Linked DNA regions of Homo sapiens: region 2 is linked to region 1. The links are contacts of gene promoters, found by promoter capture Hi-C in human tissues and cell types (Jung and others, 2019). All regions are on one chromosome and are shown on one strand. The core of a region is centred on a gene start or on the middle of the fragment in contact, and the rest is flanking DNA. Distances in the headings are between cores, read along the strand shown.

Region 1 (5,396 bases), core at 1,815-4,314:
AACTGTTTGAAATATATTTTATTATCTTTCAGTTTGAAACAAACTTTTAGATTTAGCATATTTATTCACTTCTTACATGATTTATTAAAAGAAGTAAAAGGGAAAAACTGTCTTGTCATATTTCTGGTTCTACCATGAAACACAAATGATGCTAAAACCACTAATATTTGAAGTCCATTTTGAACTCCTATGGTGTTATAGCTCAGCATAGTTTTCATGTTAAATGTATTTCAACATGATTATAAAAGCAAGTCTCTAATGTATAAAACTAAAGCAAAATAACACAAAAACAAGAAACTTAAGGCACTTTCAAGACACCATGAATCCATTTGAGTTGGTAAATGAGTATTAACCATGGAGTCATTTCATTTCTTCTAATTAACTGAGGTACTTAGAGGCACTGGGGATACAAAAATTAATAAATCCTTGTCCTGATTAATGGAGCCTAGTGGAGGGGACATATAAACAACTCAATACAATAAAGACATTTTAAGTGTTCTACAGTTAGAAATAAATTGCTATAGGAAACAGATGACGATGCAAGTAATTCTGCCCAGGGATTGGCTACAGCAGGGAGGAGGAAGAGAAGCTTTCACCGTAGAGGTAACTTTTGAGTAGGGCCATTTAAGGCTTAATAAGAATTTGCCAGGAGGAGAAATGAAGGGCTTTGAGAACATACATAAAAGAGCAAGAAAATAAACATTCTGGTGTAGGCAGCATGGGGGCAAATTGTTTAAAAAAAAAAAAAGAAGCTGAAAGAGTTAAGTAGGACCTAGTAGTGAGGATGTGACATACTATGCTTAAGGACATTAGACTTGATATTGATATTGAGTAAATTTCTGATTTAACTCTAATAGGAGATTGTGTCATATCTTCAGTATGGGGTTTATCTCATGAACTCATTAATCCTTTTATTCATTCAGAGTTGAACTATAAGAAGACACCACGCTAAAAGAAATCAGATAGATGCTGTCTTTAAAGCTCAGTTTACTGTTACTAAGGAAGGTAAGAACTTCAAAGGAAGGGTTGGGTAAAGTGATATAGAAAAATATGACATTTGAAATGGGCTTTGAGGCATCAGTAAGATTCAGACAAGTCTTATTTATATTTTGATTATGATGAGTTGAAGACATAATTTTTTGCATTTCTCACTTATAACTGGTTCATTTTCTAGGTGGCATTTAAAAAAACAAAGGAAAAAACCCACATAAATAGTGGTTTCAATAGCCATTGTTTGAAATGGCAGTGGCCATTAGTATAATGTTTAAATAAGTAAATGCAAGAAAAGACTCTTTTTTTGGTCTTTATGGCTGTAAGTTTCTTCAGGATGGAGAAAATAACTATACATTTCTGTATCTTGGAGTCAAACAATTGTTGAGTTACATGTAATACTTCTGGGTTTTATTTGAATTTTAATCCTTAAACAATGTAGAGTTGTTAAATAATGATGTGATGGAGATATAAAAAATAATGTGCTCTTGGGCAAACTAGCAAGATGAAGAAATAATCAAATATCAAGTTACAGATCAATCTAGACTAGAAATCACAATCAATGGCATTTACTTTACAGATTTAAAAAGTCTTGGTCCTAATATCACACTAGCGCACCAATTATATACACCTTAGCTATACAAGTCACCCCTTATGGGCTAAAACAGAATGGATTAGAAAAGAATATAGATTTGTGGAAAATCTGGGATAGAAAAGCAATAGAACATAAGATACACAGAAGTAGAACTTGGAGAATTCACTGATGTGGAATCTGAACCACTGCCACATTCTTATTTATAGTGTTAATGAAGTGCTTCTGCTGCAAGGCTTTCTACAAACTTAAGTAAACATTTCTCTAGAGGAATTTACACTGAAGTAATCACAATGTATCTAAGAGTATTTAAAAAACATGAAACTGGTGAACATCTTATTACCTAAAGTAGAAGGCTAGTTATATATTGCCATCTATGCCATGGGAGGGTTCTGAAGTTAGGATTCTGGTTGCATGTTATTGTAGTTATTATAAATTTTAGCATAAAATGTAATATAAAACATACCAAGCTTGAAACAACCACCAAGGGAATCGAGGTGTTTATTACTGAGCACCAGTTACATGTTTCTTAAGAAACATGTATATAATAATAATAAACATTTTGAAAAACATTTTCTTCTTAATGATTATAGAATTCACAAAAACCAGAATTGACTGGAAATCATAAATGATTCTCAAAGCAGGAAAAAAAAAAACAAGAAATAGCGTCTAAAAATTTGTTAGTAGGTATGAGTCAGACCTGTATTATTATGTTTACACTAAATGGGGTAGTTCAAACATATAATATTTTATCTCTAAATAATTTTATCCACAATATTTGAGAAGAAATCCCCACAGCACATAGTAAACTATTTTTTTTTTAGTCTTAAGTGAAGAATAATAATTATCCGGATAATAATTTCCACACATTTTTTCCTCAGATAGACTGGTAAGTACTGGTGGCTTTTTTCCCCCAAACACACTTTATTAGTGAAGTGGAAATATTAATATGATCTTAAGTGACGCTGGAAGGATTAAAAAGTTTTTCCATACACAGAGAGATTTGGTCTGGTGCTGACAGAACTACACGATTTTACTGGAGAGTCACTCGAGCCGTTGTGGAGATGCCGTTTCTGAGGTAAACAAAATTTTAGAATTTAGAAAATAAAGTTGTTACCATTCACAAATTTTTTTTTTTTAAGTGAGAGGTTCTAACTTTTCCCCTTCGTTCTACCACAGGGAAAAAAGCATTTAGACTCTCTACAGTCGTGGCATTAGAAAAAGGCGCTAAAAATAGACAATGTAACGGCCCAGGGTGCTCCGACCTTCAGTGGTGAGACAACCGGGGCGCGTGGGTGGGGGCAGGGAGAGGAGGGACTGAGGGAGGCGGGGCGGGGCTGAGGCTGGGGCTGTGGAGGGGCGGATTCGGGGTGGGGCAAACCCTGAGATTAGGCTAAGGCCAGGTCTTGAGGGGCGGGTCAGGGGCGTGACCAGAGCGGCCCGGAACCGCCTATTAAGGGATTGGAGCCCCGCCGGGACTCGGACAGATCCTTTCCATTCGCTGTCATGTCTCTCCCTCAGCCCACGCCGCGGATGGCCGAGCTCAGAAAGCCTACCTCCTCTTTAACGCCTCCTGAGGACCCGGATTCCCAACCACCTAGTAGCAAGCGGCTCTGTCTTGAGGAGCCTGGAGGTGTCTTTAAGGCGGGCTGGCGACTGCCTCTGGTGCCTCGCTTGTCTGAGGCGGAAAAAGTCTGGGAGTTGTCCCCTAGACCCTTCAAGGGACTCCTTGTTTCAACGAATGCTATTTTCGATAACTCCACAGACTCGTGTGTGGAGAAATCAGTCAGTGGGAAGCAGATATGTAATCTGAAATGCTCAAATCTCAAATTCCAAATGAGTAGCTGTTTGCAGTCTCCCCCCTCACAAAGTCCTGATTCTGATTTGAGGGCTTCAGGAAGGTCTGAGGCAGGCCTGCATGACAGAGAGGCTTTCAGTGTGCACCGCAGTAATAGCTCCAAAGCAGGGGTTAGTCAACTTCTGCCCAGCACCTCTATACACGATATACATGGAATTAGAAATGAGAATCGAAAACAACAGTTTGTCCAAGGAAGAGACAATGTTCACAAAGAAAATCCATTTTTAGATGTTACCTTTTACAAGGAAACTAAATCACCATTTCATGAAATTAAGAACAGATGTAAAGCTAACAGTGTTGTGCCATCAAATAAAAGAGAAAATAACATTTCATCATCTGTACTAAAAATATCAAAATCTCAAAACCAGCCCAGCTTGGAAATTGCCAAACCTAGCTATTTTAGAGATAGCGGCACAATAAGTGTCCCTCAGTTTCCAATGGACTTAAATAGCAAAATGTCCTCTGTCTATTTAAAGGAAATAGCGAAGAAAAAGAATGACAAAAAAGAGGCATATGTTAGGGATTTCACAAACATTTACTGGTCCCAAAATAGACCTGATGTTAAGAAGCAAAAGTTACAGAATGATAAAAAAACTGTAGAAGCGGAAAACATTTTTTCCAAATGTTATGAAAATGACTACCCATCACTCAGTAGCCAAAATACTTGTAAGAGAAAAGACTTGATCAGTTCAAACTACTGTAACTGCAGTAGTATCCAGTGTAATGTAAGAGACTCTAGAAAGAATTTCGCTATACTAGAAAATGCAAATTGGGAGGAAGCAGAATGTCTGGACAGTTACGTACTTACCAGGCTGGAAAAATCTCAAAACTGGGACTGTAACGTTAGACATATTTTGAGAAGAAATAGAGGAAATTGTTGGATTATAAATAATTGCAAGACTAAATGTGAAAATATGAAAAAAACTGAAGAAAAATGGAATTGGCTATTATTATTAGAAATAGACCTTTTAAGCAAGGAAGATTACCACTGTGCAAAAGTCATCAATGCATATGAAGAACAATCAAAGCTTCTCGTAAGAGAAATATTAGGTAGTCAGACAGCTTTAATAACGACTGTTTGGCTAAATGGTAAAGGAGAAAATGATAATACTCTACAGTTGAGATACAATACTACACAAAAAGTCTTTCATGTGAACAACCCTTTTGAAAGTTTCATTATAGAAATTTTTTATTTCCATAAAAGTATTTCAGGAAATAAAAAAGATAATAGTATTTTAACCTGCTGTAACATTTTGAAGTGTAAAAAGCAAATTGGTATAATTGGTATTCAAAATCTAATAACCAGAAACATGAATACAAATATAAAGAATGGAATTTTAAGCATATATTTACAAGATAGTGTTTCAGAACCTTTAGATATTCTATTGAAAACTAACATAGCTTTTTTGCTCAATAACTTTGACTCTTTAACAAGAATTGAAAATGATTTTGAATTAGAAGAGGAATGCATTTTCAAGTGCATGCTTTATTTGAAGTATCCAAAAAATATAGTGGAAAATCATACTGCATATCTAGTAAAGATTTTAACTTCTTCAAGACTATTAGAAGATAATATGAAACCTATGTTAAAGAAAAGGAAGTTATTTAGAACTGAACAAGTTTTTGAAAAGTCTAAGAAAAAACTCATTAATTCCTTCAGTATGACAACTCAAAATACAGGTTTTCCGATTTTTGAAACATATGAAAAAATTCCCCTTTTAATGGACTTTGATGACATGGATGAAATTTCTTTAATAAGAGAAATTACTTGTCAGAATATGAGTTGTCCTCAACAAGTTGTGAATGTGGAAAATTGGGCTCACTATAATTCTAGTACTGTTAAAGCACATGGTAATTCTTGTCCTCAATTTATACAGAACAACCGAGGATACATTAATGAAAATTTTTATGAAGTAAATATGCACAGCCAAGATTTAAATATGGAAAGAAAACAGG
Region 2 (5,396 bases), core at 1,361-3,860, 150 kb before region 1:
AAGGAAAGTGACACTGAAGTTCCATGATATGTTAGTAATAGATGAGAGGGTAAAAGCTAGATCCCCCAGATTTACTTGGGGCTTCATTTATTAAATTGGTGCAAAATACAGTGTGGGGGCAAGATTGCATCTTGGTATTTAGTTCTTGCTTTTTTATATGGGAATTTTTATTTGCTTGATTGTTGGTTTGGTTTGTTTAGACTTATGATAGGTGTAAAATTTTAGAGTATGTTTAGAATTGGAATATTTACCTTAGAATATTAATAATGTTAATATTAAAAAATAAATGAATGCTCACTTGAGAGCAGTATCACTTTTCAAACAGTGAATTGAAAAGTATTGGAAGCTATATGTCTGCTATTGATATGAAACTAGTTGTTGCTCTTTTTTCACCTTGTATGCATATATGTATATCTGGAATTTTGTCAAAAAAATAGAACCCTTCCTAATGTTATTGTATATTCTCAGGAAATTGTGTGAATGATTTGCTGTTAATTTTATTAGTTGCTTTCTTATTGTTTCCATGGACCTTTATTTAGTAAATAATTTTTTAAAGATTTTATTTAGCTTTTAAAAGAAATTTAAAATTATTTAAATTTTAAAAGATTTTATTTAGAATTCAAAATAAATACAATACAAAAGAAATTTTTTTTTTTTTTTTTTTTTTTTTGAGACGGGGTCTCGCTCTGTCGACCAGGCTGGAGTGCAATGGCATGATCTTGGCTCACTGCAACCTCTGTCTCCCAGGCTCAAGCAATCCTCCCACCTCAGCCTCCCAAGTAGTTGGGACCACAGGAGTATGCCACCATGGCCAGCTAGTTTTTGTATTTTTGTGTGTGTGTGTGTGGAGATGAGGTTTCCCCATGTTGCCCAGGCTGGTCTCGAACTTCTAGGGTTCCTTTAAAGGATTCCTAAAGCAATCCTTTAAATCTTTTAAAAGATATATTTCAATGCATTTCTTTGGCCAGTGTAAGCTTTTTAAAGTTGATTTCTGTCCTTTTGACGTTCAGTAATCACTTTTAATGCAGCTTAACCACTAGGTGTCACTATAATTCAAGTAACAAAAAATCTCAGCACTTTTAAATGTTTGAAGCTTAAGTTTCAGGGTTAGGTGTGGTGGCTTACACCTGTAATCCCAGCACTTTGGGAAGCTGAGATGGGAGGATTGCTTGAACCGAGGAGTTCAAGACCAGCCTGGGCAACATGGAGAAACCTCAACTCCACCCAGAAAAAAAAAAAAAACACAAAAATTAGCTGGCCGTGGTGGCATACTCCTGTGGTCCCAACTACTTGGGAGGCTGAGGTGGGAGGATTGCTTGAGCCTGGGAGACAGAGGTTGCAGTGAGCCAAGATCACACCATTGCACTCCAGCCTGGTTCAACAGAGCGAGACCCTGTTTCAGAAAAAAAATTGTTTTATTAACATTTTTTAAATTAGCCTTTGGAATTTTGGTCTGTTAGATTCAGTTATGGTGAAAAAGGTTTTCAGTTTTATTCTCTTGCAGTAGAGCAAGAAGTACCATTATACGTATAACTGTTTTACTGTAAAATTTTTTGAAAGGAATGGGTATTTCCAAATCACTAAGTCATTTTATTCCCATCTCCTTTTTACTGTAAATCTATTATTTATCTGTCTTGTAAAGAATTTAATCTGGCCTTTCATTTACTTAGTTTTTTGTTCCTTGTCAACTCATTCTCTTCAAGGTTCAGCCTGGAGAAGGAAATAAAGCTGCTTTCAATGACATGAGAGCCTTGTCTGGAGGTGAACGTTCTTTCTCCACAGTGTGTTTTATTCTTTCCCTGTGGTCCATCGCAGAATCTCCTTTCAGATGCCTGGATGAATTTGATGTCTACATGGTATTGTTAAATTTTAAATTCTCTTTTTCATTTTTTTGTTTGTTTGAAACATGTATTTCTAAAGGAAGGAAATCTTTCTTTAGTTTTACCCCTAACAGGAAAGATCCTGCCCTGACTCTTTAGTCTGTGACCAGTAGTGGGGAAGAACTAAAGAACTAGAGTTCTCTCCCTTGCTTCTAGGCACACAGTAACCCTAGAGACCCTGGAGGGGTCCTCCTCTTCTCGCCCAGCATGGATATCCGTGCCTTCCATCATATCTGCGTTTTCTCCCTCACCCTCTCTCCCAGCTTATTTTCATCAACCCATAAATATGTTCAGACTTTTTGTTTTAATACAAAATTATAACCTGTTCACCACCCTGGCTTTGACTCACCCTAGCCACTGTTTACTGTTCCTTCATACCCACACATTTCAGAACAATGTACAGAACATAAGCGAGCAAGAACTTTTGAATTTCCAGTTAAAAAGCATAGGATTTGAGACCTACCTCTGACAGGCAAAATATCTCTACTTATTGGGTCTCAATTTCTTCATCTACAAAACAATATTATTACCAATTCCTACCTCTCATGGTTAGAGTGAGGCTCAAATGGTGTCTTTCATACATTATACTTACTGTGGTTCAGGCATATAGTAAGTTCTCATAAATTAGCAATTATTTTCTTCTTCATATCTCATTGTTTGCTCAATCTACTGTAATCTGGATGTAGATGACACTACTCTAGCAAAACTTGTTTAGCAAAGGTTATAAATGAGCTTTAATCTTACCTTATTTTTTGAAGTATTTGACACCACAGACCTATCCTCCATCCCTTAAAATGTCTTCTTACCAGCTGCCACCCTCTCTTTCCTGGTTTTCCTGTTTTTCTATTATTTGTTCTTAATCTGCCAAGCTGCCTCCCCTAATTCTGTTGCCCTTAAACGTTTGAGATCTTTGTTTGCTTGTTATAGTGTTGTTGATTTTCCTGAATTCCATATCCTACTTCCCCCTACAAATATACACATATCACAGTCCCCAAAACTACTACCTGCGTATGGACAGATACCTATCAACTCATAGCACCACATCCTGACATCTCTCCTGTACTCTAGACCCAGATGCCCTACTACCTATTAGACATCACCTGGTAAACCACCAATATCTGAAATTCAGCAGCCCCGAGGTTGAAAGTGCCTTCATCTCAAAGCCTCTTTCTTTTCCTGAATTCCCTACCTTGATTAATGCAAACTGTCATTTCCAGCGCAGTCACCTACCTTTGACATCTGTGATTTACCTTTGATTCTTCCTTGTTCAAGTCTGACCTCTGTCCGCTTCTCCTTTAAGACCGCTCTTTGGTCTCTGCCCTCTTCTCCTTTCTCACTGATATTCTTCCTCTCATCCCCTTATCTTCGCCTCATACCTGTGGTGATAGCCTCTTCTCCGGACTCCCAGGCTTGCATGTGGCTCCTTCTTCGGTCCGTCCTCCACCATTTTGGCAGGTTTACATTTCTACAGTTGATCTGATGGTGGTCATTCACCTATGTAAAACCCTTTGGAGGTTATTATATATGGAATAAATGTTTAATTCTGTAGGGTAGCTTTGAGACCCTTCATGATATCGTACCTGCCTGCTTTTTTCAGCTGTTCTAAGCTATTTGTAATTCTCCAAACATGGTGCCTCTGCCTGGTATGCCCTCCTTAATCACATGTCACTCTACTCATCTTTCAGGACATTGTTCAAATGCCACTTTTATGAGACTTCTGTGACCACCATACCCTATCAGGCAGGATGAGGAACTTCTCAGAACTTCCTTTGCACCACCTTACATCAACTCATAATATATATTACTTTTATACTTTTATTTAAGATAAAAATATAAAAATGCTTTATATTATTATATAATATTTTATACTGTTTTTTATTCTGTTGCAGTTGCCCATTTTTATATCTGAATCCCCTACCAGATTGTAACCATTTTGAGGTTATCAGCTATGTCTGAGATGTTTATGTCTCCTAATGCCTAGTCTATAATGACCGTTTAGTAAGTGTGTATTCGTGAATCAGAATTTATACCTGTGAGTGCTGTATAATAGTTCAGTGTCAATTTTTTTCTATGATACTATTGCTGAAAATGGGTTAGATATTCCTCCAAGAATTGTCTTCAGAGCTAATCACGAGTCATAGAAGATGATTATTCTTTCCATGCAGTGTTTTTGTCCAGAATGGTGCTGTGCAGTCTTATCACTCATCTTGTATGTCAGATTTAATTCTAAGCAGCTCCTTTCTCTTTCAGAAACTTAGAGCTTCTTAATCAGAGTGGCACTTTGCCCCAATGAAATTATTCAGAAGAATGTATCCAAGTTCTGTGAGCTAATCCAAGGAAAACAAATTTTTTTTTGGTACTTTGGCAGTTTTGTTATAAAATAATAGGCCTCTCACAGCAGATATGCCTGATGGAATTGTTATAATCAGAGCCATTGAGCAATATAGCCAGGATGTGTATCCCATTTTGACTCCACAGCCCTTGTTCTAAATCACCATGCTGTATTGCCACATACAGTTTTATTTTTTATTTATTTACTTATTTTTTTCAGGACACAGTCTCGTTCTGTTACCCAGGCTGGAGTGCAGTGGCGTGATTTCAGCTCACTGCGACCTCCGCCTCCTGGATTCAATTGATCCTTGTGACTCAGCCACCTGAGTAGCTGGGATTACAGGTGTGCACCACCATGCCCGGCTAATTTTTGTATTTTTTGTAGAGACTGGGTTTTGCCATATTGGCCAGGCTGATCTCGAGCTCCTGGCCTCAAGTGATCCACCTGCCTCAATCTCCCAAAGTGCTGGGATTAAAGGCATGAGCTGCTGCGCCCGGCACCACATATAGTATTAAATTAAGACCTTTAAAATATACATGTTCATATGTCAATGATTTCAACTTTTAGGAATTTTCAAGGGAATTGAGGAACACTTTGATTTTCTTTTACTGTTACTTAACTCAGAAAATGTAGCCACAGGTCTAGACCATTTAATCCCAAAACCTATTATAACGAAGCATTATTCTTTGTCTATACCCTGATGTGCTATTTAACTTATTTAAAGATATAATTGAGAAATTGGTCTGTAAGTTCAAATTGGTTTATATTGTACAAATGGTAGAGGTAATGGGGAGAGGCAGACTTTTTAAAACTTAACCTTTATCATTGAGGGAAAATTTGAGAGACTTAATGAATTTGAGACTAGCCACTTTTGTTACCATTACCCTGACTCATTAACCATTACTGTACAAATTAGATTTATTCTCTAACATTTAGTTGTGTCAGGAGAATATTTTCTGATTATTTCAATTGCTACACGTATTTGAGGGAGGGGGCTGTGTATACAAATATTTTGACTATAGAAATTACCTGAAAGACATATTTATTCAGTTATTGTCCCCGAAGAGTTTCTCTTTTTTCCCTTAGAGATGGGCTTTCACTCTGTCATTCAGGCTAGAGTACAATGGTGCGATCATAGCTTACTATACCCTTGAGTTCCTGGGCTCAAGTGATCCTCCTGCCTC

What was found. Contacts are between HindIII fragments. The study calls those that stand out against the background at their distance.
Region 2: a contact is called between a fragment that was not itself captured here and the fragment with the promoter of RAD51AP2 in region 1, in 1 of the 25 tissues and cell types used here (aorta).

What each region holds. Positions count from the first base shown.
Region 1 is chr2:17,516,108-17,521,503 of GRCh38, reverse strand. It overlaps RAD51AP2 (RAD51 associated protein 2), which reads left to right and starts at 3,064. Exons shown (of 3, transcript NM_001099218.3): 1 at 3,064-5,396. The coding sequence starts at 3,089. RefSeq lists a silencer at 2,792-3,041 and enhancers at 2,803-3,352, 2,337-3,536. The HindIII fragment of the contact is 4,842 bases long and covers 1,322-5,396 here.
Region 2 is chr2:17,666,883-17,672,278 of GRCh38, reverse strand. SMC6 (structural maintenance of chromosomes 6) reads left to right here. Exons shown (of 28, transcript NM_001142286.2): 26 at 1,704-1,856. Among named protein-coding and RNA genes, the nearest start is that of SMC6, 84 kb to the left of the region's middle. The HindIII fragment of the contact is 3,152 bases long and covers 1,035-4,186 here.